7 separate regions of the Homo sapiens genome follow, and all the other regions are linked to region 1. Evidence: promoter capture Hi-C in human tissues and cell types (Jung and others, 2019). All regions are on one chromosome and are shown on one strand. The core of a region is centred on a gene start or on the middle of the fragment in contact, and the rest is flanking DNA. Distances in the headings are between cores, read along the strand shown. Region 1 holds the start of FBXL14 (F-box and leucine rich repeat protein 14). Region 2 has its middle 5.3 kb from the start of NINJ2. Region 3 overlaps WNK1 (WNK lysine deficient protein kinase 1). Region 4 overlaps WNK1 (WNK lysine deficient protein kinase 1). Region 5 overlaps WNK1 (WNK lysine deficient protein kinase 1). Region 6 overlaps RAD52 (RAD52 DNA repair protein). Region 7 overlaps RAD52 (RAD52 DNA repair protein).

Region 1 (4,236 bases), core at 1,032-3,531:
TCACCAGGTGTTCAGATTCGGCATAGGGCTCATTCTACGCCCTAGTTCCTTTTCCCCGGGAATGCTTTTTCTGTGATGCTTCTTGATGCTATATTTTCCTATTTATTGAAGGTGAAAATAGTCATATTGCTGAAAATCCTTATAATATATACTTGAGTGCCTTAAATAAAAGGCTTTGTGTTAATAAGATTCTAGAATTCAAGAAAAACTGTTGTTAGAACGAGGACCAGATGGCCAACTTCTAGAGAAAGTGCTTCCAGATACCTCTGAATGACTCTTCAGATTTGAGAACAAGGGCCTTTCTAGAGAAGGAAAACCATTAGGCTCCTTCTTAGTCCGAGGCTGGTCAGGCCCCTTGTCTAAAATTCCCCCCAAATGTGTGGGGTACTTTGTTTTTTATTAAGCAGGATTAAGTTACACTAAGGTGCTTTGGATTAAGGCCTTGACATCAACCCAAACACATCTAGGTGCACAGAACAATCAAAAAGTGACTTTTGCGCAGAATTTAAGGTAAACGTTTAGGCAGAAGTGACTGAGAAGAATAAAAGCCTAGATAACCTCCAGGAGAAGAGTGAAGCCCAGGCATACCCCAGAATCGTGACACTTACTGCCACCGTACATCTGGATGTACTGGATGACTAACAGTACAGTCTATTTTTTCAAGAAGGTTATAAAAATCTATGGGCTCCACACTGCGTGTAATGTGGGTGAGGTAACAAGCTGGCGAGAATTTTTGCTTCTGCATTTCCTGATTTAGGAAAGAGGAGTGGTAGGGGTGTAAAAGGTGTATTATGCCTATTACTGAATCTGTATGTATTTGGTCTAATAGTGGTTGCTTGGGCAAAAGTTACTCTCCTACACTGAATATGGAACCCCTTCCAAATCTTGTTCAGGTCCTCAAAGAATCAATGAAACCATTTTCCCTTTCTGATAAATCCGCTGGTCTTGTATCTAGTTGTGTGGATCCATAAATTAAAATACAGAGGATCATTTTCTCTGATCCAAAAATTCTTGGTTTGGGGGTAGTTAAAATGAAACTTCTGAAATTCTATCCTTAGTACGGACATTTAGGACCCAGGGGCTACATCCTAGAATGGAATTGTGCCCTGCTTCCATAAAACGGTTGATAAACCAACAGACACGACTGGATTGTCTTAAACCAAGTTCAACTGTCATTCCATTTTAATCAAAAAGTAAATTGGATTCAGCATATACGAATATATTGACTATCAGTACAACTGAGCCATACAACTGATAGTCTAAGGCTGATGACAAGGAGAAAGCTCCTAAAACAAGGCTTAGGGGAAGGCTGTTCCCCTGTAAGCAAAGCGGACTGAGGGCATTGGTGGCGCAGCAGCGTTCAGAAGTAGAGGGAAGTTTTGATGTATCAAGTACCGAGGGAAACACACACAGCGTGTCTGGAAACCATCAGAAGATGCTAGAAGGAAGTAGTCATGGATAATTCTAGAAATTTCTAGAACACCGACTGGAGGGGGTCATTGTTTAAGATGAGTACAGCCGAGTTTCTCTCCAATTTAAGACACAAGACTGGAGAGAAAGGCGTCGTAGTAAACAGCCCCAACCGGGGGAGCAGGGGGTGTGATAATGAGGCGTTAAGGGGCATTAGGGACAGTAAGAAAAGGAGAGTTGGGGTGACGATTATTGAGCACTGCTATAGGAGGCGGCTCTCGCAGGGATAATCAAGGGAGAGGGGTGTGAAATAAGGGTAACGAATTGCAGGGGTAAACTGTGGGAAGGGGCTGCGCAGACTTCAACAGCAAAGAAAAAGAAGGAACGGGGCTGGGGCGTGGCCCAGAGAGGGAACGGCTCAATAACGGGCTACCGGGTGAAAAGAAGCCGGGTGGGGAGGCGCTCTGCTGACAGCTGCCGCTCCCCCGTGGCGCCCACAGGGTTAAAAATCAGGGGCCACGGGACCAGGCCGAACTCGGTTTCCAGGGCAACGGCTCCACAGTTCCGGCAGCGCAGGCCCGTACCATTGCGCGGGCGCGGGGGAGCGGGAGCGGCGGAGGGGACGCGCTGCAGGGCGGCGGAGCCGGGGCCGGCCCGGGCGCTACCAAACGCACGGCCCGCCTGCTCGCCCGGGGTCTGCGCCGAGCCGCGCTCCGGCCGGACGGCCGCGGCGTCCTTGGTGCGGGGGCCGGCAGCTCCCAAGTGGCCGCGGACGGCGGGGGAGAAGGAACGCACGCCGCCGGCCGGGATTGGCCTCCTGGTCCCCCCGCCTGGGCGGCGGAGTGCGGGCGGCCCGGGGCTGGGAGGTTTGAAAAGCGGGCGAGAGACAAAGGCAGCAGGAAGCCTCCTCCGCGCCCGGAGCCCGTGCGCCCGGCCCCCGGGGCCCCCTCGCCGCCCGCCGGCCCGCGGAGCAGCGGCGGCGGCAGGAGGCGGAGGATGCGGCAGGGGGCGTGGGCGCGGCGGCGCGGGCGGAGCGGCGCGGCCCGGGCGCGGCGTGGGTAGAGCCGAGGCGGCGGCGGCGGCCGGCCTCCGGGAGCGAGAGCGAGGCGCCTTCCCCGCCCGGGATGTGAGCGCCGTGCGGAGCCCGGGGCGGGGGAGGGCCGGGCCGGAGGCGCAGCCGGCAGGAAGGAAGGACGGACGGACCAGGAGGAGGAGCGGCGGCGGCGGCCGGAGCCGGAAGGCGGGGAGGGGCCGGCCGTTGGGCCCGAGGCGGCGGCGGCGGCGGCGGCGGCGGCTGGGGAGAAGCGCTCTCGTCGCCTGCCCGAGGCCGGAGCGGCGGGGCCCGCGCCTCCTCCCCCCAGCGCCGCGGAGGGGGGAGGAGGAAGATGGAGACCCACATCTCATGCCTGTTCCCGGAGCTGCTGGCCATGATCTTCGGCTACCTGGACGTCCGGGACAAGGGGCGCGCGGCGCAGGTGTGCACCGCCTGGCGGGACGCCGCCTACCACAAGTCGGTGTGGCGGGGGGTGGAGGCCAAGCTGCACCTGCGCCGGGCCAACCCGTCGCTGTTCCCCAGCCTGCAGGCCCGGGGCATCCGCCGGGTGCAGATCCTGAGCCTCCGCCGCAGCCTCAGCTACGTGATCCAGGGCATGGCCAACATCGAGAGCCTCAACCTCAGCGGCTGCTACAACCTCACCGACAACGGGCTGGGCCACGCGTTTGTGCAGGAGATCGGCTCCCTGCGCGCTCTCAACCTGAGCCTCTGCAAGCAGATCACTGACAGCAGCCTGGGCCGCATAGCCCAGTACCTCAAGGGCCTGGAGGTGCTGGAGCTGGGAGGTTGCAGCAACATCACCAACACTGGCCTTCTGCTCATCGCCTGGGGTCTGCAGCGCCTCAAGAGCCTTAACCTCCGCAGCTGCCGCCACCTTTCGGATGTGGGCATCGGGCACCTGGCCGGCATGACGCGCAGCGCGGCGGAGGGCTGCCTGGGCCTGGAGCAGCTCACGCTACAGGACTGCCAGAAGCTCACAGATCTTTCTCTAAAGCACATCTCCCGAGGGCTGACGGGCCTGAGGCTCCTCAACCTCAGCTTCTGTGGGGGAATCTCGGACGCTGGCCTCCTGCACCTGTCGCACATGGGCAGCCTGCGCAGCCTCAACCTGCGCTCCTGTGACAACATCAGTGACACGGGCATCATGCATCTGGCCATGGGCAGCCTGCGCCTCTCGGGGCTGGATGTTTCGTTCTGTGACAAGGTGGGAGACCAGAGTCTGGCTTACATAGCCCAGGGGCTGGATGGCCTCAAGTCTCTCTCCCTCTGCTCCTGCCACATCAGTGATGATGGCATCAACCGCATGGTGCGGCAGATGCACGGGCTGCGCACGCTCAACATTGGACAGTGTGTGCGCATCACGGACAAGGGCCTGGAGCTGATCGCTGAGCACCTGAGCCAACTCACCGGCATAGACCTGTACGGCTGCACCCGAATCACCAAGCGCGGCCTGGAGCGCATCACGCAGCTGCCGTGCCTCAAGGTACTCAACCTGGGACTCTGGCAGATGACGGACAGTGAGAAGGTCAGGTGAGGGCGGCAGCACCAGCTCCCCTTGTCCCGCCCTGTTCATCCTCCCATTACCACCGCCCCCACACACTCACACGCACACTTACGCACAGATCATTGCAGCGGATGAGATGGGGCTATGACAGAAGCCTCAGGCTCGTTTCCTCCTCCCTCCTCCAGCCCCCTCCCGGCTTCCAGCCCATTCTCTTTGCAGCTGGGGTTCCTACCCTACCCTACTCCCAGCTCCTTTTCCCCGCGGATGG
Region 2 (4,236 bases), core at 1,095-3,594, 930 kb after region 1:
GCCGGGATTATAGATGTGAGCGGCTGCACCCGGGCCTGTCTCTTAAGTTTTCATCTATGAGTTCCTTCTTTTCTTTTTTCCTCTAATTTATTTGTTGAAGAAACCAGGTCAGGTTGTTTGCACTGTAGAATTTCCCAGGCTTAATCCATCCCTGAGTGTCTGTAATATGTTCCTGTCTTCCCTGTGTTTCCTATAAACTGGAAATTAGATCTAGAGCATATTCAGTTTCAATATTTTTGGCAAGAATGCTTCATAGGTGGGGTGTCTGAGGAACACTTTGTCAGTTAAAAAGGTCCTGTGGGCCAGCATCCTGTCTGCTGCCTGGATAAGTGGCTATAATTTTGACTGTGCTTTGTAAACCTTCTTTTCCCTTTTCTTTTCTTTTCTTTTCTTTTCTTTTCTTTTCTCTTTCTTTCCTTCTTTCTTTCTTTCTTTCTTTCTTTCTTTCTTTCTTTCTTTCTTTCTTTCTTTCTTTCCTTCTTTCTTTCTTTCTTTTATTTTGACGGAGTTTCACCCTTGTCACCCAGGCTGGAGTGCAGTGGCACAATCTTGGCTCACTGCAACCTCCACCTTCCGGGTTCAAGAGATTCTCCTGCCTCAGCCTCCCAAGTAGCTGGGATTACAGGCGCCTGCCACCGCGCATGGCTAATTATTTTTTTTTTTGTATTTTTTTTTTTTTAGTAGAGCGGGGTTTCATCACGTTGGCCAGGTTTGTCTTGAACTCCCAACCTCAGGTGATCCAACCGCCTTGGCCTCCCAAAGTGCTGGGATTACAGGTGTGAGCCACTGCTCCTGGCCTTTTTTTCCTTTTTTAAATATCACTTCAAGACTTGAAACCTCCACACAATTTTGTGTGACTTGGGGTTGCCCAGCCCCCCCACACACCAGCCCTTAGAGGCTTATTACCATATGCCTCCTGAGCAGAAGTCCATTGGTTCCCAAGAGGTGCCTTAAGGGGCAGCTCGAGAAATGGAACGGGGCAGTTGCGGGGGGTAGGTGGCGGGACAGATAGGGCAGAAGTGGATGTGACTCTAGCATTCAAACAGCTTCACTTTAATCTGCTTTATGTTAACTTCCACATAAGATTACGTTTAAGAAAAGGATTTCTTATCTTTAAAAAGTTTGCAAACCACTGATCTTTGTCTCTCTCCTATCACTAAGAAAAGATCATCTATTCCTCTCCCTTAAGCCACCAAGAGAGTGCCAGGCACCTTTTTTTTTTTTCTGAGACGGAGTCTTGCTCTGTCGCCAGGCTGGAGTGCAGTGGTGTGATCTCAGCTCACTGCAACCTCCCCCTCCCGGGTTCAAGCGATTCTCCTGCCTCAGCCTCCCAAGTAGCTGGGACTACAGGCGCGCGCCACCATGCCCAGCTACTTTTTTTGTATTTTTAATAGAGACGGGGTCTCACCATCTTGGCCAGGCTGGTCTTGAACTCCTGACCTCGTGATCCACCCGCCTCAGCCTCCCAAAGTGCTGGGATGACAGGTGTGAGCCACCGCGCCCAACCGGAGGCTCTGTTTTTAATCATTCATTGAACAGTGAGTCACAGTTAAAATCCCCCTCCTCTGAATGTGAAAGAGTGAAGGGAAATTTTACTCACCACCACCAAGAGCATCCCCAGGCCTCGTGGGGCATTCCCACGAGAGCTGTGTGCCCTGACTTCCTATTTGTGTGAAGTCAGGCCCCGTGAGCATCTATCAAGGCGTGAGCAGCCAAATAGAAGTGACACATACACAATGACAGGATTCTAAATGTGGAATTTTGGTTGATAGCTCCACTGGCCGAGAAGGTGGCTACTAGCTACTTAAATGTAACCACGTAAATGTGAACTTAGAGGCTGGGCGCAGTGGCTCACGCCTGTAATTCTAGCACTTTGGGAGGTCGAGGTGGGCGGATCACCTGAGGTCAGGAGTTCGAGACCAGCCTGGTCAACATGGTGAAGCCACGTCTCTACTGAAAATACACAGAAAAATTAGCTGGGCATGGTGGTACACGCCTGTAATCCTGGCTACTCAGGAGGCTGAGGCATGAGAATTGCATGAACCTGTGAGGTGGAGGTTGCAGTGAGCTGAGATCACGCCAGCACACTCCAGCCTGTGGGACAGAGTAAGACTCTGTCTCAAAAAAAAAAAAAAAAAAAAAGTGGGGGGTGATTTTAGGCCAGGCACAGTAGCTCATGCTTGTAATCCCAGCACTTGGGAAGGCTAAGGTTGTGGATTACTTAAGCCCAGGAGTTCGAGGTTGCAGTGAGCTATGATTGTGCCACTGTACTCCAGCCTGGGTGACAGAGTAAGACCCTGTCTCTAAAATAAATTTAAAAATAAATAAAATCAAAATATGTGAATTTATTGAAACTAAATCAGATTTAAAACTCAAATTCCTACTCAGCCAACCAAATTTCATGTGCTCAATTGGCTAATGTGGCTAATGGCTACTATATTGAAGAGTGAAGATGGAAATGTTCAATAACATTTACTGCACTACCAGCTCCCTCCATAGGCCCTCAGAAAGCTTCCCTTTGCCATCCCTGTTGGCCCTGGGATTCCTGGAGAAGTGAATTTGAAAGCAGCTGAGTTCATGTGTAAATGGGCATAAGCAAGTTTGTAAGAATGTTTTGAAGTCAGCTTTTATTCTCACTTCTGTATCTTGTTTGACGTGGGTATGCCCTACTCAGTCTCCATGAGCAGGGGCAACAGACAGTGGTAATTTTCCCTAAAATTTTTCTAATTACATAAATTTTCCATCAGGGAAGGTCTTATTGGTAAAATTAAACTAAAAGCATTAGATTCTTCTTGCTCTGCTTCAATTTTTTAAAAAGCCAATAATTTCTAGCCCTCAACTTTTACACACTGAAATTCAGACCTGTATCTGAGATTTTATATTGTTACACAGGAAGTATTTAATATAAACTTTTTTTTTTTTTTTTTTTTTTTGAGACAGAGTCTCACTCTGTCACCCAGGCTGGAGCGCAGTGTTGTGGTCTCGGCTCATTGCAACCTCCACCTCCTGGGTTCACGCCATTCTTTTGTGCCTCAGCCTCCCAAATAGCTGGGATTACCGGCATGCACCACCAGGCCCAGCTAATTTTTGTATTTTTAGTAGAGAGGGGTTACACCATGTTGTCCAGGCTGGTCTCAAACTCCTGACCTCAGGTGATCTGCCTACCTCGGTGCTGGATTACAGGTGTGAGCCACGACACCTGGCCAAAACACACATTAGAAACAGAATTTAAGAGCTAGAGGGATCTTAGGAATCAACTCTTTTGATAGCTTCACATTCACAAACAAGAATGTAAGCCCCAGAGAAGTTAAGTGACTTGCCTAAAAACACAGTGACTCAGCACACAGAGAGGAATCCAGGCCACCTGGCTTTCACCCTAGAGCTTTTCCCACAATTCAAAATTAAAGGATCTTCTTGCTGTTGCCTTCTTCAGTACCCTACAACAATGCTTTGCTCCTTCTACATAGCAAGATACCTAGGGTCTCATTGTAGACCCCTCATTCCATGAAACTAGACTCAGAGTAGTTTCTGAGTCACTCTGAGTGTCTACTTATCTGTAAGTTCAAGGATATTCCAAAATATGCTTTCCAAGAGACAGTCTCCCTAAAAATGTCCCTCTGGCTTTACACCACAAAAATCACCCTAGCAGTAAAGAACAATAGAAACCATTTCCACCCACAGTGATAACCTCCACGTAGGTGCAGTTTCAGCACCAGCCAAATGGCAGCAACACTCTTCACTACAGCTTCCCTTGCCATCAGTTGTCTCACCAGGGCGTGCATGTGGTGCTTTTATATCCCCGCAGTGTTTAACCCAATATCCACGTGGTAGAGACTCAGTAGTTGCCTCTCAAGTGGGAATTAGACTTCAAAGACTCTGATTAAATCCTAGAGCAGGGGTCAGCAGACTATAGCCTGTGGAGCCAACTCCGGTCTGTTTTTATGAATATCTGACTCTTTTTGTAAATAAAGTTTTATTGGAACACTCCCACACTCGTTCATTTACATGTTGTCTATGACTGCTTTCACATTATTATAGAAGTGAGTCATCGCAGCAGAAACCATATGACACACAAAGGCTAAAAAATATTGGCTCTCTGGCCCCTTACAGAAAAAGTTTACTGGCTGGGCATGGTGACCCACGCCTGTAATTCCAGCACTTTGAGAGATCGAGGTGAGCGGATCGCTTGAGCTCAGGAGTTTGAGGCCAGCCTGGGCAACATGGCGAAACCCCCGT
Region 3 (4,236 bases), core at 1,126-3,625, 810 kb after region 1:
CCTCTCACTTTCATTTTTAAATATATTTTTCATATGTAACATATTTCAGATATACTGTCTGGGTATCAGCTTTTGCTGGTTATTCTGGGAACAATCATTTCCGGTACTGGCATTACAGGCCTTTCTCACTTAAGTCAACAAACAACTCACAAACTTTTAGAAATATGGTCCATTAGTGCATAAGTTGATCTCATGTTAGCAGAGTATAACTATGAATTATTATTTTACTAAAAATATGGACAATGTTTAATTTCCATATAGTATTACACACAGTAGCTTTTTTTTTAATTTCAAGAAGCTGATATGAAGGACAATCTATTGTGAAATAATATACTCATCTGTGATGGTTAGTTTTATGTTACAATTTTGCCACAGTATTCAATTATTCTATCAAATACTAACTAGGTGTTGCTATAAAGGTATTTTTGTAGATATGGTTAAACCTACAATCAGCTGACTTTATGTAAAGGAGACTACCCTCAATTATGTGGTTGGGTCTCATCTAATCACTTACAAGGCAGTAAACTGGGATTTCCTGAGAAATCCTGGCTAAAGGTGCAGCATCAGCTCCTGTGCTAGAGTTCCCAACCCAATGGCCAGCTCAACCAGAAGACAGATTTCAGACTTGCCAGCCCCAACAACCAAGTAAACTAATTCCTTGAAATTACATATAATATCTATCTGTTATATACAAAATCTCCTAATGGTTTTGTTGCCTTGGAGAAACCTGATACCATTTTTCACACTAAAATTACACACACACGCACACACACACAATGTAAAGCATCCACATATCCATGACAACATCTAAGTTTTTAACATTTTTTTGTTGTGCCTGTCCTGAGATGGTCAAAGAGTGGAAATGCACAGAGGTCCTCAGCCCAGCAGAAGACAGATGGTCTTTACAACAGAGCAGCCTACATACATTAAAGTGTGTAAGAATAAGGAAAACCGACTTACACAAAAGATAAAGATTTTTTTTAAACACACAGAAAGCTAATATAGGTTAAGAACCAGGCAAGCATTAAACACAGGAACCCACAAGAACTACGCTAATAATGTAGTTTCAAGCTTTTGTTAATAACTGACACCTAATAATAGCTAACATTTATTGACTTCCAGACCCTGTTCTGGTGCTTTACATATATTAACATATTTAAACTCAACAACACCTCTGTGAAGTAGGTACCTACGTGGGCTTGGTGGCTCACGCCTGAAATCCTAGCACTTTGGGAGGCTGAGGCAGGAGGATCACTTGAGCCCAGAGTTTCAGATCAGCAACAGTGAGACCCCATCTCTACTTTAACCAAAAAAGAAATGGATGCACAAGAGGATTACAATAAAAAAGTGGCAAAGCCAAGCCAAGGTGTAAACAGAAGCTGCCTTGTTCTAGAGTCTGTGCTTTGCCATTCCACAATACCACCTATAAAAGTAGAGAAATAATTTTATTTTTATAAAGTAGATTTATAGTCTAATATGTAGGTGTTTTAAAAATTAACAATGAAAAATACATAATTTCATTTAAGTCACTTAAATAATGAAAATTACATAAAAGATAGACTACTAGGTGTAAAATGCAAAGAAAATAAATCTATCTAAGAAAGGCAAGGCAGAAATAAAACACATAGAAGGCAGGAAGAAGACCAACTCCAAACATACCAATTAAAACACATAGAAGGCAGGAAGAAGACCAACTCCAAACATACCAATTATTACTATAAATGTACGTTAAAGTTCTCTATTACAAAAAACCTGTGGAACAGGCTTTAAAAAAAAGTCTAAACACTGTTTATTTATAAGAAACACATCAAAATTAAAATGACATAAAAAAGAAGATAAAGGGCCAGGCACAGTGGCTCACACTGGTAATCCCAGCACTTTGGGAGGCCAAGGTGGGTGGATCACCTGAGGTAAGGAGTTCGACACCAGCCTGACCAACATGATGAAACCCTGTCGCTACTAAAATGCAAAAATTAGCCAGGCCTGGTGGCAGGAGCCTATAATCTCAGTTACTCAGGAAACTGAGGCAGGAGAATCACTTAAACCCATGAGGCAGAAGTTGCAGTGAGCCAAGATTGTGCCACTGCACTCCAGCCTGGGCAACAAGAGTGAAATTCTGTCTCAAAAAAAAAAAAAAAGGGAAGATAGAGGAACAAATAAAACAAATGTGAAAAAAGAATGACAATATAAAAAGGGAATGTGTTAAGCAAAGAGAATTATTTGAGAAAATGCTGCATATTTTATATTGATAAAAAGTACAATTATTTACGTATATAACATTCATGCTTAACCCAGCCTAAATATAAAGCTATGAATATATAACATAAAAACTGTTAGAAATACAAACGGAAATTGACAAATCCACAATTATTTTGTAGGGCTGACACGTTTATCAAATATCAGCTAATCAAGTAGTCTAAGGCAACAAAAATACATGGAATTTAAGCAATACAATTAACAAATACAGATTTTTTCCCTTAATAAATACTATTTTCAAATAAACATAGAACTTCAATTTTTACAACAGCATACATTAGACTATAAATAAAAAGTTTTAATAAAATCTCTAAAGTGGAAATCACATAAAGCATAAGTTATACTTTGGCATATAAAACTAGGGATCTGAGTAGCATAAATGAACAGCTCTAAAGATCCCAACATCTGCATTTCATAAGATGCCAGAACAGTACAGTCAGATTATACTGGGGCCCACAATCAGCAAACCGCATTTATTTATCAGTTTTCAGTGCCCAACTCAAATGCGACAACCAAGGCTCATGGGATTACTTGAAAAAAGTCTTTAAAGAGCATCCAATCTACATGGGAAGCAAAAAAATAAATAAATAAAATTAAAGAGCAACTAAAATCAGTAACAAATAACAACAACCAAAAAAAGGAACCTGGAAAAGGCAGGGTCATGTGGTGGCTCACGCTTGTAATCCCAGCACTTTGGGAGGCTGAGGCGGGTGGATCACGAGGTCAGGAGATCCAGATCACCCTGGCGAACACGGTGAAACCCCGTCTCTACTAAAAATACAAAAAATTAGCTGGGCGTGGTGGCGGGTGCCTGTAATCCCAGCTACTCGGGAGGCTGAGGCAGAACTGCTTGAACCTGGGAGGTGGAGGCTGCAGTGAGCCAAGATCACACCATTGCACTCCAGCTCTGGGTGACAGAGCAAGACTCCACTTCGAGGGGGTGGGGGGGGGGGAGAAAATGATATGGACGTTAGACCATTGGTCTAGGAGAACCAACATATATGTAACAGGAGTTCTGGAAGGGGCAACATAAAAAACAGAGGGCAAGAAATGAAATGAGTAGAAGGTAAATTTTCAGAATTGATGGCCAGTGAGTTTCCAGACAAAAAGCCACAATGGAAAAAAGAGACCCATACCAAGGCACATTGCTGAAATTTCAAAACGCTGAGGACAAGACAAAAAACCTGAAAACTTCCAGAGGAAAAAAACAATAGGTTACAGGGAACAGAGAATCCTACTAGCCTCAGACTTTAACAGCAATACTGGAAGCTAGAAGAAAATAGAATAAATGTCTTTAAAATTCTGAAATAAATTATTTCCAATCTAGAATTTGTTATCCGAACTACCTATTAAAGAGGAAAGGGAAAGGAAGATGAAGGAAAATATTTTCAGACATGTAAGTTCTCAAAAATACATTTATCTCCCAAATGACCTTTCTCAAAGAGTTATGAAGTTATTCTTTCACAAATGAGGAGACCAAGAAAGAGAAAGAAATGGGATTCTGGAAGCAGGATCAAAAACCAGCTAGATATAAGAAGAATCTCCAAAATGAGAATGAATGAAGATCCCCAACCTAAGCATCAACCTAGAATGCAACCAGTACAAATGGTGAAGTTTAGAAGTTTAAGAGAGGTTATCTCCAAAAAAGAAGAATATCTAAAAGTTTTAATGTAGTGACAGGAGATTTGCACAGCTAGGAGGGAAGACTTCAGGAAAATAGTAATAAATATCTTGACTGTGGTGATGGTTTCATGGATGTGGACAACTTATTAAATTTGTACCTTTTAAATATGTACATTTTATTATGTCAACTATACTTCAATAATGCTATTTTTAAAAATAAAAAATAAATGTCAACAAAAATATTCATATTAAATGCTAACATATTATAAAATAAGACAATCACATCAAAGGCAAAAATTAAAAAACTGTAATTCATTATTGATAATTTTTATCACCAACTTCTTGAGATGGTAGGGA
Region 4 (4,236 bases), core at 499-2,998, 760 kb after region 1:
ATCGTATGGCAATAACTAGGGCAAGGATGTGAACCCAAGACTTTGCTTCCAAAACCCATCTTGCTTCCCTTACCTCAGGAGAAAACCTTCCCTATCAAGACTTACCATTATACCATGTCACAAGCCCATTGAATCCTGGATATTACTCTACCCTATCCACCACCACCCACCATGATTTCTACTTCTCTCTCTCTTCCTCTTGCTCCTTCCAAAAGCCTATAAACAGATAAAGTCTCTTTCACCATTAAAATACAACAATATAATAGCAGTAAAAACACATATCAGCAGTCAGAAGTTTGCCTCTTAATTACCAACCGGAAACTCTCTGCTCTGAGATGAGACAGGATTTGGGAGCAGGAGAAACTAAGTAGCAATTGATTTGTCCTTGGATCAAAAATTGATTTGTCCAAGACAACAGCTTCACTCTATTTGATCAATTTGCCTTTCCTTCCATTGTACTACGGTGTTTGGCATCTCAGCATTCATGTAAATCCTATTCCTGCTTCTTAGAATGGCCTCTCACCATTCTTCTACCTTCTCTTTTTGACAGTTCATACAACAGCTCTTTTTGTGAAATCTTCCCTAATCCATAGCAGGGTTATCCATTGTTCCTCCACTCTCCTTAGTGCTTGTCTCCATTACAATACTCACCATAATGTAATTATAATTCTTTGTTTACATATTAATCTTCTATATTAGAGGTAGTTTTCTGAAGACAGGGAATATGATTATTCACCTTTACTTAGTATCAAGCTCTGGGCATGGGACATAGCAGGGATTCAGAAAATGTTGCATTTACTGGCACTGAGATTTATTTTGTATTTAGGATAGTGCTACAGATAAGGATGAAATTATACAGATGTACTAGATTAAAATATTTTAAGGAATATAAAGCAATAAAAATAATAAGCAAGTACATTAATTGAATTTATGAATTTATAAGTAGAATAACCACTAATAAACAAAATTTTATCATTCATATCAATTGAGAAGAATCAGCTCAGAAAAGGCAAAGATCATTATACAGTGAAACCAATCAGATAAAATGTCATGGAGGAAGACCGTTAAGTATATGGATTGACTGGATAGCAGAAAAGCTTATAGTGGAGGTACAGTATTATATAACATTTACAAATGGATAGGAATACAGGAAAGGATGTGGCATATGTGCGAGATAATGAAGAGAACTGATTTAACTAAAATAGAGTGCTTGGATGAAGATGAAGAATAGCAAAGATTAAGAATTTGTACTTGCTCTGATATCAGCAAACTGGTATCTTAAGTTCCTTATACCAAGAAAGGATAGCAAGAAAGCTCAACAAGTTTAAGTGAAATAAAAAAATAAATTCACAATGTAAATTACTTCTGGAATATAATGCAAGGTGTGCAGTAAGGAAGATGTGAAATCAGAGTTGTGGCAATGGGAATGAAGAAGGCTTGCATCTAAGAGGTATTCTGAAGCAAGAACCTTATAAACTGGAAGTAGTGGAAGCAGCGAGTAAAAAACAAGAAATCAAATATACCTCTTAAGTTTTCTACAATTTTAAACAAAATAAAGGAGGAAATTACCCAATAAACAGTCGACCCTATGCTCAAAGGAAAAAAAAAAAGAGAGAATGTAAATTACAACGCATCAGGGGAAGAAAGGGGAATAATAAGAGACATGAACTGGGAATGATGATACAGAACTCTGAAAGGCAAAGCAGATGAGCTTTCTAAGGGCATAAATGTAGAATAATGATTAGGGTACTTATCAGAATCATCTGAAGGCATAAAAAAATTTCTCCTGCCCCCATTCAGCCCAAATTGAGAGTCAGTGCTTCAGGGATTACAATTATATTGTGTATTAGAATCTGGGTGAGTATTAAGAAGAGGTTAATAAATTTAACAGTAAGGCCTCAGGCCAGACACTTGTAGACATACACCTAATAATAATAACTGACAAAATACCATCCCAATTACAAAGCCAGAAGTAACTTGAGAGTTACACACTTTCTCCATAAACAATAGCTGTCATTTTTACTGGGTATGAAACCTCAAACTTCATATGAAATTAAACTAATTGTCCAAAGTAGCTCCATATCCATCAACAACAGAATCACATACAAATATACAACAAGGATATTGAAGGAATATTCACAGCAATAAATAATTATAATTAATCTTTGACTCCAAAGATTTCTCCCAAGCCTTTATGAAGAGGTAAAATTTGGTCTACCTAAAGCAAAATGTTTCCTATCAGTTTTTAATAATAAACATTTCTGGCTCATGCCTGTAATTCCAGCACTTTGGGAGGCAGAGGTGGGCAGATCACAAGGTCAGGAGATCGAGACCATCCTGGCTAACACAGTGAAACCCCATCTCTACTAAAAATACAAAAAATTAGCCAGGTGTGGTGGCGGGCACCTGTAGTCCCAGCTACTTGGGAGGCTGAGGCAGGAGAATAGCGTGAACCCAGGAGGCAGAGCTTGCAGTGAGCCGAGATGGCGCCACTGCACTCCAGCCTGGGCGACAGAGCGAGACGCCGTCTCAAAAAATAAATAAATAAATAAAAAATTAAAAATAAACATTTCCATTCTGTTCAGCTATCAAAATCTAAATAAGCAATTGATAATTACATCTTCTATATCAAAATTCAATTAAATTACATCACTAAAAATGAAATAATGAGATACTATGAGCTTCTCGGTGCAATATAACATATACAGCACCACATATTAAGTATCCTTGCAAAAAATGTTTAGCCTAAATTTTATCAAGACTTTTGAACAGTGGTTCTCAAACTTTTGTCTCAGGACCCCTTTATACTCTTAAAATTAACATTATTGGGGACCTCAGAGGGATTTTGTCTATGTGTGTTACATCTATTAATATTTACCGTGGCAGATGGTAAACCTGAGAAAGTTTAAAAATGTTAATTCATTAAAAATTATAACTCATTATGTTACAAATATATATTTAAAATTAAAAAGTCAGTATTTTCCAAAACAAGAAAAATTTAGTGATAAGACTGGTATTGTTTTACATTTTTGTAATCTTTTTAAATATATGGTTTAATGGAAGACAAAGGAATTTTTTTTTTTTTTTGAGACAGAGTCTTACTCTGTCACCCAGGCTGGAGTGCAGTGGCACAATCTTGGCTCACTGCAACCTCCATCTCCCGGGTTCCAGAGATTCTCGGGCCTCAGCCTCCAAAGTAGCTAGGATTACAGGGGTGCACCACCACGCCTGGCTAATTTTTGTATTTTTAGTAGAGATGGGGTTTCACCATGTTGGCCAGTCTAGTCTCATACTCCTGACCTCAAGGGATCCACCTGCCTCGGCCTCCCAAAGTGCTGAGATTACAGGCATAAGCCACCACGCCCGGCCCTACAAATGAATTCTTTTATATGCTTCTGTATGTACTCTGCTGCAATATCATATGTGCAGTATCATATAGCCTCTGGAAAACAACAACGTACACTCTTGGGTGAATGCGAGTAAAAAAGACAAAATTATTTTTACATTGTTAACCTACCCCAACCATTTTAAGGTAAACTTCTCCTTACAGAAATATAGAAGAATAAACTAGTTAAATGACACCACGAGGAAAATTCAGAATGTGGAACATTCCTCGAAATAATCTAATTTTCTCAATAAATCTCTGACATGCATGCAGAAAAAGAAAGTAAAAGCAATAGTTCTAGATTAAGAACTACAACAATAAAATATATTTTGTGGACCTTGATGGAGCCTATTTTGAACACTGTCAACGGACATTTTTGAAACAATGGAGAGAATATCTGAACAGGTTCAGGGTATTGGATGATGCAGAAATGATTGTTAATTTTTTCAGGCATAATATGGTTATGTAAGAAAATGTATTTTAGAGTAGCATAATGAAGCATGTAGTGATAAAGTAAAATGAATCATAACAACTACCTTTCAGGTTTCAATTAGACAGCTGTAGAAAATATCTCTGTCAGCAGACATGAACTACCATGAGTAATTTAAACTACAATAAGGTATTTATTTATGCCTTAAATATGGTAGGTACTAATATATAAGATTTAATAAATCAACTCAAGTCATTCAGAGAAAAGTCAGTGAACAAATTAATTTGACAAAGCATCTTGAATTAAAAACATTACTTTTAACTCTGACCTATGTGGTGGGAGACAACAGGAGTTTAGCTGAATTAATAGGGGGTTAAAAAGTAGGTAATGAGGGTGTGTTTTTAAACATAATAAAGATTTA
Region 5 (4,236 bases), core at 358-2,857, 700 kb after region 1:
CTGGAGTGCAGTGGTGCGATCTCAGCTCATTGCAACCTCCACCTACTGGGTTCAGGTGATCCTCCTGCCTCAGCCTCCTGAGTAGCTGGGATTACAGGCGTGTGCCACCACACCCGGCTAATTTTTATATTTTTAGTAGAGACGGAGTTTCACCACGTTGTCCAGGCTGGTCTTGAACTCCTGACCTCAGGTAATATGCCTGCCTCAGCCTCCCAAAGTGCTGGGATTACAGGTGTGAATCACCATGTCCAGCCAAGATCCATTGTTAAATGAAAACCAGCTAATTTTATTTTCTCAATGTAACACTGGCAAATTCTAGAATAGGATAGTACAGTTCTCAGAATTATTATTATTATTATTATTATTTGAGATGGAGTCTCACTCTGTTGCCCAGGTTGCAGTGCAGTGGTGCGATCTTGGCTCACTGCAAGCTACACCTCCCAGGTTCATGCCATTCTCCTGCCTCAGCCTCTCGAGTAGCTGGGACCACAGGCGCCCACCACCACACCCGACTAATTTTTTGTATTTTTAGTAGAGACGGGGTTTCACCGTCTTAGTCAGGATGGTCTCGATCTCCTGACCTCGTGATCTGCCCGCCTCAGCCTCCCAAAGTGCTGGGATTACAGGCGTGAGCCACTGCACCCAGCCCTCAGAATTATTTAGTTTTGGGCAATTTAAAAACCTTTCCGGGGAACAATGCTTTGAGTTTCTTTCTAGAGATATATTTATTTTATACAGCTAGTAGAACATTGAGCGATTTTTATGTTTTCATGTAATTCTATATCTTTGAGATCATTCCATATCAATGCCTCATTCTTTTTAATGATTGCATAGTGTCATACCCTATGTATATACCATATATATATTTCATATTTAATCAGGCTTCTACTGATGGGCATTTAAATTATTCAGAATTTCTTTTCTTTTTTCCCTGAGACAGGGTCTCACTCTGTCACCCAGGCTGGAGTACAGTGATGCCATCACAGCTCACCACAATCTCAACCTCCCAGGCTCAGGTGATCCTTCCTCCTCAGCCTCCTGAGAAGCTAGAACAACAGGTGCACACCACCACATCCGGCTAATTTTTAAAATTTCTTGCAGAGATGGGGGTCTCACTATATTGCCCAGGCTGGTCTCGAAATCCTGGGCTCAAGCAATCCACCTGCTTTGGCCTCCCAAAGTGCTGGGATTAGAGGTGTGAGCCACCATGCCCGGCCCAGAATTTCTTGCTATTTTAGAAATAAATATTCTCTTATAGATCTGTACAATAAATATACCACAATGAAAGTGCTGAATTATTTCCATTTAAGACTGTAGTAGACATCACTATTATAAACTGATCCCCCCAGAGGCTGTACCAAGTCACTGGTGGCTATTAGACCCCTGAATTTACCAATGAGAGGTGGGAATTGCTATCACTTGTAGCCTTACTTTGTGTTTCTATCATTACGGACATTAAATATTTTCATGTCTAAGTTTCCTTTTCTGTTATCTTTTGATTGTTTTTTGGTTCATGTTGAATTTTAGGAACTCTTTGTATTAGCAAAACGAGTTCTTTTTGTGATATGACTACACATACCCCTCCCCCTCCCACAAATATATATATTTCCCCAGTTTTTCATTTATATTTGCAATCGGTGGCACTTTTCTTCCATGAAGAAAATTTTATATCTATTACTACTTGCTTCTGGATTAGACATTGAACTTAACACCTCTATTAAACTTATCTGAGAACTCCAAACTGATCCATGGACCAAATTCAGCCTACTGCCTGTTTTTGTAAATAAATTCTATTGAAACACAAACTCATTTATTTATGTATTGTCCATTGCTACTTGTGAGATCTGAGTAAGTTGCAAGAGACTATATGGTCTAGAAAGCCTAAAATTTGTACCATCTCGCCCTTTACAGAAAAAGAGTTTGTGAACCCTGCTCTAGATAGTTGAAAAAAATCCCCTTGGGACGGGGGAGGGATGGCATTAGGAGATATACCTAATGCTAAATGACGAGTTAATGGGTGCAGCACACCAACATGGCACATGTATACATATGTAACAAACCTGCACGTTGTGCACATGTACCCTAAAACTTAAAAGTATAATAATAATAAAATTAAAAAAAAAAAAGATTTCCAAGCCACAAAAAAAAAAAAAAGTTAGTTATAATGTGGGATCTGAAATAATAGTAATAAGATATTCATAACTGTGGCCATTAAAATCCATTGACCTATACATTTTTTTGTTCATGCATGATTTTTTTTTTGAGACAGGGTCTCACTCTGCCACCTAGGATGGAGTGCAGTGGCAAAACCATAGCTCACTGTAGCCTGGAACTCCTGGGCTCAGGCAATCCTCGTCTCAGCCTCCCGATTAGCTAGGACTACAGGCATACACCACCACAGCTGGCTAAATTTTTGTCTATAGTGAAAAAGGAAAATAATGTCTTAGTTTTACTGTAAAATAGTGTTGCCCTCATAGGCACCCCAAAAGGGTCCTCAGCCCACACTCCAAGAACTGATGCCTTAATACTATGCAATTCTCAAGTTGTTATTACTAATAAATTAAAAAACTAAAAAAAAAAAAAAAAAGAAAAAAAATCCCCTTATGATTTCATATAGTACTATTTTATGATATAATATTTCATCTTTGGTCCACTTGGACTTTACTTATGTCTAGGCTAGTGATCCACCTTTGCTTTTTTCCAGATGGCTTTCAAGTTGTTCTAAACCACTTATAAAAATATTCCATCTTTCAGCCAGGCGCGGTGGCTCACGCCTGTAATCCCAGCACTCTGGGAGGCCGAGGCGGGCAGATCACCTGAGGTCAGGAGTTTGCGACCAGCCTGACCAACAGGGAGAAACCCTGTCTCTACTAAAAATACAAAATTATCCAGGTGTGGTGGTGCATGCCTGTAATCCCAGATACTTGGGAGGCTGAGGCAGGAAAATCGCTTGAACCTGGGAGGTGGAGGTTGCAATGAGTCGAGATGATGCCACTGCACTCCAGCCTGGGCAACAAGAGCAAACTCCACTTCAAAAAAAAAGAAATATTCCATCTTCCAATGATTTGAAAAGCTACCTTTTTCATATTCTACATTCTCTTTTTATTGGTAGTAATCTTTATTATTTTCATTGTACATACTTGATACTCTACATATTTTGATAATCTACATTCCCCTTTCATTTTTCCATTTCTAGACCATTCTAATGATTTGCAAATCACTTTTAAAATGAGAGCCAATTGAGAATATAATTGCCTTGAAAATAAAAATGTTTAAATTGATTAACTGAAATCTTACATTTGTATTTCAATACAAATATATGTCCAGACTATTCAAGCTTCTATCCCTATATATCCAGTGTCACAAAAGCTAAGAGGTTATCAGTAAATTTACTTTTCTAAATACAGTATGCTTTAATTTCCTAATCTCTAATAGCAAGGATCTGGCATAGCTAATAATGAAGGGTCTTATCATTACCTCCTGTATAACCTTTCCTCTGACAAATAATAACGGAACAGATTTATTAATTTGCTAATCTTTCAAGCTTTAGATATTACTACCAATGCTCCTCAGTTATCAAATACGTGGAAATGTGTCTTTGAAACGGTAAACCTCCTGAATCAACTACGGGTAGGGCTGGAATTAGTAATATAAAAGGAGGAAGGATGTTTCTCACCACCCTTCTGAGGCTGTGTTCCTGCTTCTGTGATTGCTGTTGGAGCCGCCATGGACACAGGCTGTAAAACACACACAGACAGACACCACAAATCTTTAGCTTCAGTCACTCAAACTTTTGCCTCGTTGCCTTTCCTATGGTCTTTGTAAAAGGGCAGAAAGACAGTATATGTGATGAAACACTTATGTCTGAGAACATTTTATCTTCTTTCCTTTTTCTTTTAAAGTCTAAAAGTCTGATGTAAAGAAAGGCACCTTTTAGGGCCAGGCATGGTGGCTCACACCTGTAATCCCAGCATTTTGGGAGGTCAAGGTGGGCAGATCATTTGAGGTCAGGAGTTCGAGACCGGCCTGGCCAACATGGCGAAACCCCGCCTCTAATAAAAACACAAAAATTAGCCGGGTGTGGTGGCGGGCACCTGTAATCCCAGCTACTCGGGAGGCTGAGGTAGAAGAATCACTTGAACCTGGGAGGTGATGGTTGCAGTGAGCCAAGATCGTGCCACTGCACTACAGCCTGGGTAACAGCGCAAGACTCCTGTCTCAAAAAAAAAAAAAAAA
Region 6 (4,236 bases), core at 1,062-3,561, 670 kb after region 1:
CTGGGCGACAGAGCCAGACTCCGTCTCCAAAAAAAAAAAAAAAAAAAATCACACCATTTGACAAGAATGTGAGGTCTAGAGAATTTGTGTACGTGTAGGTAGTGAACTGTGGTTGGGGGTAGTCTGTGAAGCCTCAAAGCAAGCACACAGCCCTCTGCAGCACCACTGTCCTTCCCAGACACTCCCAGCCTCGCTGTTGAGCCTTCTTTCTTTTCCTTAGTTCTGGTGTCATTACATGTCTGATGTCATTACAATGTCATTTACATGTCCATTATTTCTGTCAATACCTATAACGTGATCTGAGCCTTTGCCTTTGGAGAATGGGGTCTGTGGTGGGGCAGCCCTGGAGTCACACTGCCTTGCCATGAGTGGCTTCTGGAGTGTTCCTCCTGCCTCATCTGCTCTCCGAGGTCCCTGCCATGTCGCTCCCCAGGGCAGCATTCCCATCCTGTGCCTGAGGGATTCTTGTCCTCATGGAGCCCCACAAGGTGTGTGTCACTGGGCATCTGTAAAAACTCCTTTAAAAAAATCATTTTTAAACATTATTGGATTCAGTTTGCTAATATTTTGTTAGACTTTTTTTTTTGAGACGGAGTCTCGCTCTGTCGCCCAGGCTGAAGTGCAGTGGTGTGATCTTGGCTCACTGCAACCTCTGCCTCCTGGGTTCCAGCGATGCTCCTGCCTCAGCCTCCTGAGTAGCTGGGATTACAGGTGTGTACCACCACGCCTGGCTAATTTTTGTATTTTTTTAGTAGAGACGGGGTTTCACCATCTTGGTCAGGCTGGTCTCGAATTCCTGACCTCATGATTCGCCTGCCTCGGCCTCCCAAAGTGCTGAGATTACAGGCGTGAGCCCCCGCGCCCGGCCTTTGTTAGGCATTTTTGCATCTATGTTTATGAGAGATATTAGTCAAGTTTTCTTTTTCTTTTTTTTTTTTTGAGATAGTCTCACTCTGTCGCCCAGGCTGGAGTGCAGTAGTGTGATCTCAGCTCACTGCAACCTCTGCCTCCCGGGTTCATGCCATTCTCCTGCCTCAGCCTCCCAAGTCGCTGGGACTACAGGTGCCAGCCACCACCATGCCCAGCTAATTTTTTTATTTTTAGTAGATGGGGTTTCGTCCTGTTGGCCAGGCTGGTCTTGAACTCCTGACCTCAAGTAATCCGCCTGCCTCGGCCTCCGAAAGTTTTGGGATGACAGGCGTGAGCCACCGCACCCGGCCTTTTCTTTTTTTAAATTGTAGTAAAACACATCACATTTTAACTATTTTTAGTGTGTGGTCGAGTAGTGTTAAGTGTATTCCCATTGTTGTGAAATTGATCTGCAGAACTAAGACCCTGCACCCGTAAAACAAGAACTCCGCATTTCCCCCTTTCCCAGACCCTTGTAACTACTTCCACTTTCTTTCCTTTTTTTTTTTTTTTAATTTATTTTATGAAAGATGAGGTCTTGCTCTGTCAGCCAGGCTGGAATGCAGGAGTGCCATCATAATTCACTGCATCCTTGCACTCCTGGGCCCAAGGGATCCTCCTGGATCCTCCTGCCTCAGCCTCTCAGGTGGCTGGGACTACAGGTATGTGCCAGTGCACCTAGCTAATTTATTTTTTAAACAATTATTACTATTTTTTTTGTAGAGACAGAATTTCTCAGGGCTGGTCATGAACTGCTGGGCTCATGTGATCCTCCTGCCTCGGCCTCCCAAAGCGCTGGGATTGCAGCGTGGGCCACTGTACCTGGAGCCAGCTAATTAACTTTTTTTGGGGGCTTTTTTTTTTAAGAGGTGAGTTCTTGCTATGTTGCTGAGGCTGGTCTTGATCTTTTTTTCTTTTTTAAAAAATTAGGTTAGGCGCTGTGGCTCCTGCCTATAATCCTAGCACTTTGGGAGGCCGAGGTGGTTAGATCACTTGAGCCTAGGAGTTTGAGACCACCCTGGCCAACATGGTGAAACCCTGTCTCTACTAAAAAATACAAAAATCAGCTGGGCATGGTGGTCAGCCTGCCTGTAATCCCGGTGGTCAGCCTGCCTGTAATCCCAGCTCTTCTGGAGGCTGAGGCATGAGAATCGCTTGAACCTGGGAGGTGGAGGCTGCAGTGAGCCAAGATTGCACTACTGCACTCCAGCCTGGGAGACAGAGTGAGATTCTGTCTCAAAATAATAATAATAAAATATAAAAATAAAATACTTTTTTGTGTGTGGTCATGGAGTTTTGCTATTGCCCAGGCTAGTCTCAAACTCCTGGCTACAAGCGATCCTCCCACTCAGCCTCCTTAAGTGCTGAGATTATAGGTATATGTGTCTACTTTCTGTTTCTGTGAATTTGTCTACTCTGGATACCTCATATAAATGGAATCACATAATTTTTGCTTTTTGTGACTGGCTTATTTCACTTAGCTAGCATTAATGCCTTTAAGATTCATCCATGTAGTAGTGTGTATCAGAATTCCCTTCTTTTTGTGGCTGAATATTCTGTTGTATATATAGACCACATTTTGTTTATGCATTCATTTGGTGATGGGGATTTGGGTTGCTTTCAACCTCTTGGCTATTGTGAATAATGCTGCTATGAACGAGGGTGTGTAACTCTCTTTGAGATCTTGCTTTCAATTCTTTTAGACATATTCTGAAGGGGATTGCTGGGTCATGGTAATCCTATTTTTAATTTTTCGAGGAGCTGCCACACTGATTTTCATACAGTTGCCCCATTTTACCATTCCACCAACAGGGCACATGAGTTCAGATTTTTCTAAATCCTAACCAGCACTTGTTATTTTCTGAGTTTTTGGTTTTTTTTTTTTTTTTTTTTTTAAGCCAACCTAATGGGCGTGATATTTTATTGGGGTTATGATTTGCATACCCCTGATGATTAGTGATGTTGACCATATTTTCTTTTTTGAGACAGAATCTCACTCTGTTACCCAGGCTGGAGTGCAGTGGCACAATCTTGGTTCACTGCAACCTCTGCCTCTGGGTTCAAACAATTCTCCTGTCTCAGCCTCCCAAGTAGCTGGGACTATAGGCGCCTGCCACCATGCCGGGCTAATTTTTGTATTTTTAGTAGAGATGGGGTTTCACCATGTTGGTCAGGCTGGTCTCGAACTCCTGACCTCAGGTGATCCGCCCGCCTTGGCCTCCCAAAGTGATGGGATTACAGGTGTGAGCCCCCGCACCCAGCCAACCATATTTTCATATGCTTGTTGGCCATCTGTTTATCGTCTTTGGAGAGATGTCTATTCAAGTCCTTTGTCATTTTATTTTGTTTTATTATTTTAATTTAATTTCTTTTATTCATCTCATCTCATCTCATCTCATGACAAGATCTCGCCCTGTCACCCAGGCTGGAATGCAGTGGTCTGATCATGGCTTGGCTCCCTGGAGCCTCGACATCCTGGGCTTGAGTGATCCTCCCACGCAGGCTGGAGGGCAGTCGTGTGATCTCGGCTCACTGCAGCCTCTATATCCCAGACTCAAATGATCCTCCTGCCTTAGCCTCCCAAGTAGCTGGGACTACAGGCATTTGCCACCATGCCAGGCTAATTTTTTTATTTTTTGTACAGAATACAAAAAATTTTACCGTGTTGCCCAGGCTGGTCTCAAACTCCTGGCCTCAAGTGATCCACCTGCCTTGGCCTCCCAAAATGCTGGGATAACAGGCGTGAGAAACCCATATGGCCCAACTCCTACTTTTATTGAGCTTTTTCGTATTGTTTTTGTATTCTCTCTTTCACTTATGTTTGCTGTCATCTTTTTAGAATTTCCTTTCTTCTAGCTTTGGGTGTAACTTTTTTTTTCTAGTTCTTTGAGGTATAGCGTAGATTTGAGATCTTTTTTTTTTAACTATGTGTGTAACTTCCCTCTTACGACTTCTTTCCCTGCACCCCAGAAGTTTGGTAGGTTGTGTTGTAGTATCATTTGTCTCTGGGAATTCTTCTAAGTTGGCTTGTTACATTTCCTTTGACTTTAAGAGTGTGGTGTTTAATTTCTACTGATTTGTGGATTTTCCAGTTTTCTTTTTGCTGTTGATTTCTAGTTTCATTCCATTGTGATTGAAAAGATACTTTATATGATTTCAATCTTGAATTTGTTAGGACTTGTTTTGTGGCCTAACATGTAGTCTGTCTTGGAGAATGTTCCATGTGTACTTGAGAAGAATGTATTTTCTGCTATTGGTGGGTGGAATGTTATGTATATGACTGTTAGGTCCAGTTGGCCTATAGTATTGTTCAAATACTCTATCGCC
Region 7 (4,236 bases), core at 1,281-3,780, 660 kb after region 1:
TTGTTAAATTGATTTCTAGATATGTTTCTTACCTTTATTGTAAAATGGAGCCATCATTTGCATCATTCATTACTCTGTATGTAATGTGTTATCATTCTCTACCTGCTTTCAAGATTTTCTCTTTATTTTTGTTTTTTAGCAGTTTGTCTGTGGTGTATCTAGGTGTCATTTTATTTGTATTTATCCGGAGATTTATTCTTGAGATTTGCAGAGCTTCTTAAATCTGTAAATTTATGTCTGTCGGCCAATTTGGGAAATTTGGAGCTATTAGTTTTAAAAATATTTCTTCTGTTCCATTCTCTTTCACTTCTTCTGTATGTGAGTTCAATTTCACTTCAATTGTATGTGAGTTAGACATTTTGATATTAGCCCACAGGATCCTGAGGTTCTTTCATTCTTTTCAATCTTTTTTTTTTCTCGAAGTTTGCATTTCGTGAGCAGGAGTGACAGTCATTCAGGATGATTTTTGAGATTCCTAGTTCAAGAGTAGTTCCTATTCTTTTCTAGGTGTAGTCAAGTATGGCTTCTAATTCTACTAGAAGGCTTTTTTGTCGGGGAGGTGGTTCTATGTCCTTTGGCTCTTACATTTTCTTTGTGTCTTTCACAGCACAGTTTTCAGAGGGTACCCTTTCTCTTTGGTTTTGTTTTGTTTTGTTTTGTTTTAGACGGAGTCTTGCTCTGTCTCCAGGCTGGAGTGCAGTGGCGCAATCTTGGCTCACTGCAACCTCTGCTCACTGCTACCTCTGCCTCCCGGGTTCAAGCAATTCTCCTGCCTCAGCTTCCTGAGTAGCTGGGACTACAGGCACGCGCCACCACACCCAACTAATTTTTGTATTTTTAGTAGAGACTGGGTTTCATCATGTTGGCAAGGCTGTTCTCCATCTCTTGACCTCGTGATCCGCCCGCCTTGGCCTCCCAAAGTGCTAGGATTACAGGCGTGAGCCACCGCGCCCGGCCAACAGAGGGTACCCTTTCATTCTTTTTCTCCTTCTTCCCAGAAGGCTTGCGTTTTCAAGACTACCTCATCAAGTTCTGCATGTGTTTAAAAGTGTCTCTACCCGACCTTCCCTTCCTCCCTCCCGATTTAACGGAATTCTTTGTTGGTGTTTTCATACTTACCGTGAGTTTTCTTTTTCAGGGTGATATTTTAGTTCCATCTTAGGCTCTCCATTGTCCTCTTCTCTCTTCTTTTTTTTTTTGAGACAGAGTCTCATTCTGTCACCCAGGCTGGAGTGCAGTGGTGTGATCTCTGCTCACTGCAACCTCTGCCTCCCAGGTTCAAGTGATTCTCCTGCCTCAGCCTCCCGAATAGCTGGGATTACAGGCGCACACAACCACGCCCACCTAATTTTTGTATTTTCAGTAGAGACGGGGTTTCACCATCTTGGCCAGGCTGGTCTCAAACTCCTGACCTCGTGATCCGCCTGCCTCAGCTTCCCAGAGTGCTGGGATTACAGGCATGAGCCACCGCGCCCGGTGCGCCCAGCCCTCTTCTCTCTTCTTTGCATCTCTCTTCCTATCTGGATCCCTCTTTGCTGTCCTTAAAGAGCTGAGATGAGAGATTGAGAAACATCTCTACAAGAAATTGACGTTTTTCTACTTATGGGTAATTAGAAGCTTGTAGTATTTTCAGTCTTCTAAGTATGTTGAAGATATGAGACGTTGGTGATTTTCTTTGTTTCTCCGGTTGGTTGGTCTGTGTAGTTTTTGGACATGTGTTTGGATATTTGGATTTATATAGCTGCCATAATCTTGGCTATGCAGGTAGTCTTTCCTGACACTTCATCCTGAAAGATTTGAAGCCTTTGGACAAATTTTACAGTGGGCTGGGTGCAGTGGCTCACGTCTGTAATCCCAGTGCTTTGGGAGGCTGGGCAGGAAGATTGCTTGAGCCCAGGAGTTTGAGACCAGCCTGGACAACATAGTGAGACCCGTGTCTCTACAAAAAATAAAAAATATGCCGTGTGTGGCGTTATACAACTGTAGTCCCAGCTACTTAGGAGGCTGAGGTGGGAAGATCACGAGCCAAGGAGTTTGAGGGTACGGTGAGCCATGATCGCCTCACTGCACTGGGTGGCACAGCGAGACTGTCTCAAAAAAAAAATTTACAATTAATGTCTGCATATCCTTCACCTAGGTTCATAAATTTGTACTTTTGCTTTATCTACTTGCCTTTTTCTCTCTCTCTACACACACACACACACACACACACACACACACAATTAGTTGAATGAATTGAGAGTAAGTTGCAGAAAACATGACACTTTACTCCAATATTGCATCATACAAAATCATACATCTAGTGATAGGCCATTGTCCTACAGAATCACGATATAATTATCACACTAACCAGCTGTGGTGGTGCACACCTGTAGTCTAAGCTACTCGGGAGGCTGAGGCAGAAGGATCACCTGAGCCCAGGAGGTTGTGGCTGCAGTCTCATATTCATCCCATCATCAGATTTCTCCCATTGTCCTAATAATATTCTTTATAGCTTTTCTTTATCCCTGATCCGAAATTTCATTGAAGATCACACAGTGCATTTAGTTGTCATGCCTCTTAAGTCTTTATTTATTTATTATTTATTTTTTGAGATGGAGTCTTGCTCTGTTACCCAAACTGGAGTGCAGTGGCATGATCTTGGCTCATGCAACCTCCACCCGCTGGGTTCAAGTGATTATCCTGCTTCAGCCTCCCGTGTTGCTGGGACTACAGGTGTGTGCCACCATGCCCAGCTACTTTTTATATTTTTAGTAGAGACGGGAATTGTACCATGTTGGCCAGGCTGGTCTTGAACTCCTGAGCTCAGATGATCCACCCGCCTTGGCCTCCCAAAGTGCTGGGATTACAGGCGTGGGCCACCACACCCAGCCTTAAGCCTCTTTTAACATAAAAGAGTTCACCAGCCATTCTATTTTGTTTTGCTTTTTGAGACACTGATGCTTTGGAGAGTCCAGGCCAGTTGCTTTGTAGATTTCAACTTGTTTGATTGTTTCCTGATGATTAGGTTGGTAGAAATACTACCTCAATGATGGGACCTTCTTAGTGCGTCCATCAGGAAGCACATGATGTGACTGTAATTGGTGACATTAAGTTTGATTCCTTAATAATTAAGGTGGTAACTCCCAGGTTTCTACATTGTAAAGGCATCTTTTGCCGCCCTCCTTTTTATTCCCAAGTAGTTTATTTGGAGATTAGTCCTTTACACAGTAGAGGAGCGGGGAAGGGAGACAGGAAAGGAAAGTTTGACAACAAAGGGTGAGTTTTCAAGCCTGTTGCCACGGGGGAACCTAATTCCACTGGAGAAGCTCATGGCTTGGTGATGTTCCACAGAGGGGTCAGAAATTTAGCGTATTTCAACACCAGCTCCTGTCAGGCACCATTTGAGGGCTGCTGCCAGGGTGGTTCAATTTTCTGGTGCTTACAGCTTGCCATAAACAGGTGCAAAGTAGTCTGGATACCAAAGAAAGCTCTCAGGTAACAAGATGCAGATGTTGGCATTTGGAAGTCAGAATAGGGTGCACTATTGTGGTAAGAGCTGAAGGGATGGCTGGGCGCGGTGGCTCACACCTGTAGTCCCAGCACTTTGGGAGGATGAGGCAGGCGGATCACCTGAGGTCAGAAGTTCGAGAGCAGCCTGGCCAACATGACGAAACCCCGTCTCTACTAAAAATACAAAAATTAGCCAGGCGTGGTGGTGGATGCCTGTAATCCCAGCTATTCAGTAGGCTGAGGCAGGAGAATTGCTTGAATCTGGGAGGTGTAGGTTGCAGTGAGCTGAGATCACACCACTCTGCACTCCAGCCTGGGTGACAGAGCGAGACTCTGTCTCAGAAAAAAAAAAAAGCTGAAGGGATGCTGAGTAGAGCATCCGTAGTGTCTGCTATACCTGGGTACCCTAGAACCTGGAGAACCTACAGCTTGAGGCAAGAGCGTATGTGCTATTATTTTTTCAAGAAGTGTGCTCTCAGGAAGCAGAGGTAGGGGAAAGGTGAGTGAAGGGAGAAGGAAGATTAAGTCAGTTCAAGGGTGCATTTTGAAGTTGGTTGCCCTTGGTGCAAGTACAGTTGGTTGCTTGTTCTCCTAAAGCTGTCTCCCAGGAGGATGTATACATAACTGCATTCCAGGGCAATCCATCTAAAGGAAGGGTGGACGGACCCCTCAGCTTCTGTATCTCACTGGAAAAAGGTTTGCTTCATGGCACATTAATTCCCATAGACTTCTAGGTTGTGCATG

What was found. Contacts are between HindIII fragments. The study calls those that stand out against the background at their distance.
Region 2: a contact is called between a fragment that was not itself captured here and the fragment with the promoter of FBXL14 in region 1, in 1 of the 25 tissues and cell types used here (dorsolateral prefrontal cortex).
Region 3: a contact is called between a fragment that was not itself captured here and the fragment with the promoter of FBXL14 in region 1, in 1 of the 25 tissues and cell types used here (dorsolateral prefrontal cortex).
Region 4: a contact is called between a fragment that was not itself captured here and the fragment with the promoter of FBXL14 in region 1, in 2 of the 25 tissues and cell types used here (dorsolateral prefrontal cortex and spleen).
Region 5: a fragment that was not itself captured here is called in contact with the fragment with the promoter of FBXL14 in region 1 in 1 of the 25 tissues and cell types used here (aorta).
Region 6: a fragment that was not itself captured here is called in contact with the fragment with the promoter of FBXL14 in region 1 in 2 of the 25 tissues and cell types used here (adrenal gland and dorsolateral prefrontal cortex).
Region 7: a contact is called between a fragment that was not itself captured here and the fragment with the promoter of FBXL14 in region 1, in 1 of the 25 tissues and cell types used here (dorsolateral prefrontal cortex).

Annotation. Positions count from the first base shown.
Region 1 is chr12:1,592,626-1,596,861 of GRCh38, reverse strand. It overlaps FBXL14 (F-box and leucine rich repeat protein 14), which reads left to right and starts at 2,281. Exons shown (of 2, transcript NM_152441.3): 1 at 2,281-3,989. The coding sequence starts at 2,796. RefSeq lists enhancers at 1,577-1,646, 3,017-3,206, 3,724-4,236 and silencers at 1,907-2,776, 3,757-3,806. The HindIII fragment of the contact is 15,118 bases long and covers 1-4,236 here.
Region 2 is chr12:666,644-670,879 of GRCh38, reverse strand. No RefSeq gene overlaps it. Among named protein-coding and RNA genes, the nearest start is that of NINJ2, 5.3 kb to the right of the region's middle. RefSeq lists a silencer at 1-3 and an enhancer at 3,738-4,236. The HindIII fragment of the contact is 6,399 bases long and covers 1-4,236 here.
Region 3 is chr12:784,372-788,607 of GRCh38, reverse strand. All of the region lies in intron 1 of WNK1 (WNK lysine deficient protein kinase 1), which reads right to left. Among named protein-coding and RNA genes, the nearest start is that of WNK1, 34 kb to the right of the region's middle. The HindIII fragment of the contact is 4,373 bases long and covers 189-4,236 here.
Region 4 is chr12:830,389-834,624 of GRCh38, reverse strand. The region is part of intron 4 of WNK1 (WNK lysine deficient protein kinase 1); the gene reads right to left. Among named protein-coding and RNA genes, the nearest start is that of WNK1, 80 kb to the right of the region's middle. The HindIII fragment of the contact is 7,038 bases long and covers 1-4,236 here.
Region 5 is chr12:889,954-894,189 of GRCh38, reverse strand. WNK1 (WNK lysine deficient protein kinase 1) reads right to left here. Exons shown (of 28, transcript NM_018979.4): 22 at 3,677-3,737. Among named protein-coding and RNA genes, the nearest start is that of RAD52, 58 kb to the left of the region's middle. The HindIII fragment of the contact is 7,049 bases long and covers 1-4,236 here.
Region 6 is chr12:920,760-924,995 of GRCh38, reverse strand. The region is part of intron 7 of RAD52 (RAD52 DNA repair protein); the gene reads left to right. Among named protein-coding and RNA genes, the nearest start is that of RAD52, 27 kb to the left of the region's middle. The HindIII fragment of the contact is 6,705 bases long and covers 1-4,236 here.
Region 7 is chr12:937,038-941,273 of GRCh38, reverse strand. All of the region lies in intron 1 of RAD52 (RAD52 DNA repair protein), which reads left to right. Among named protein-coding and RNA genes, the nearest start is that of RAD52, 11 kb to the left of the region's middle. The HindIII fragment of the contact is 4,320 bases long and covers 371-4,236 here.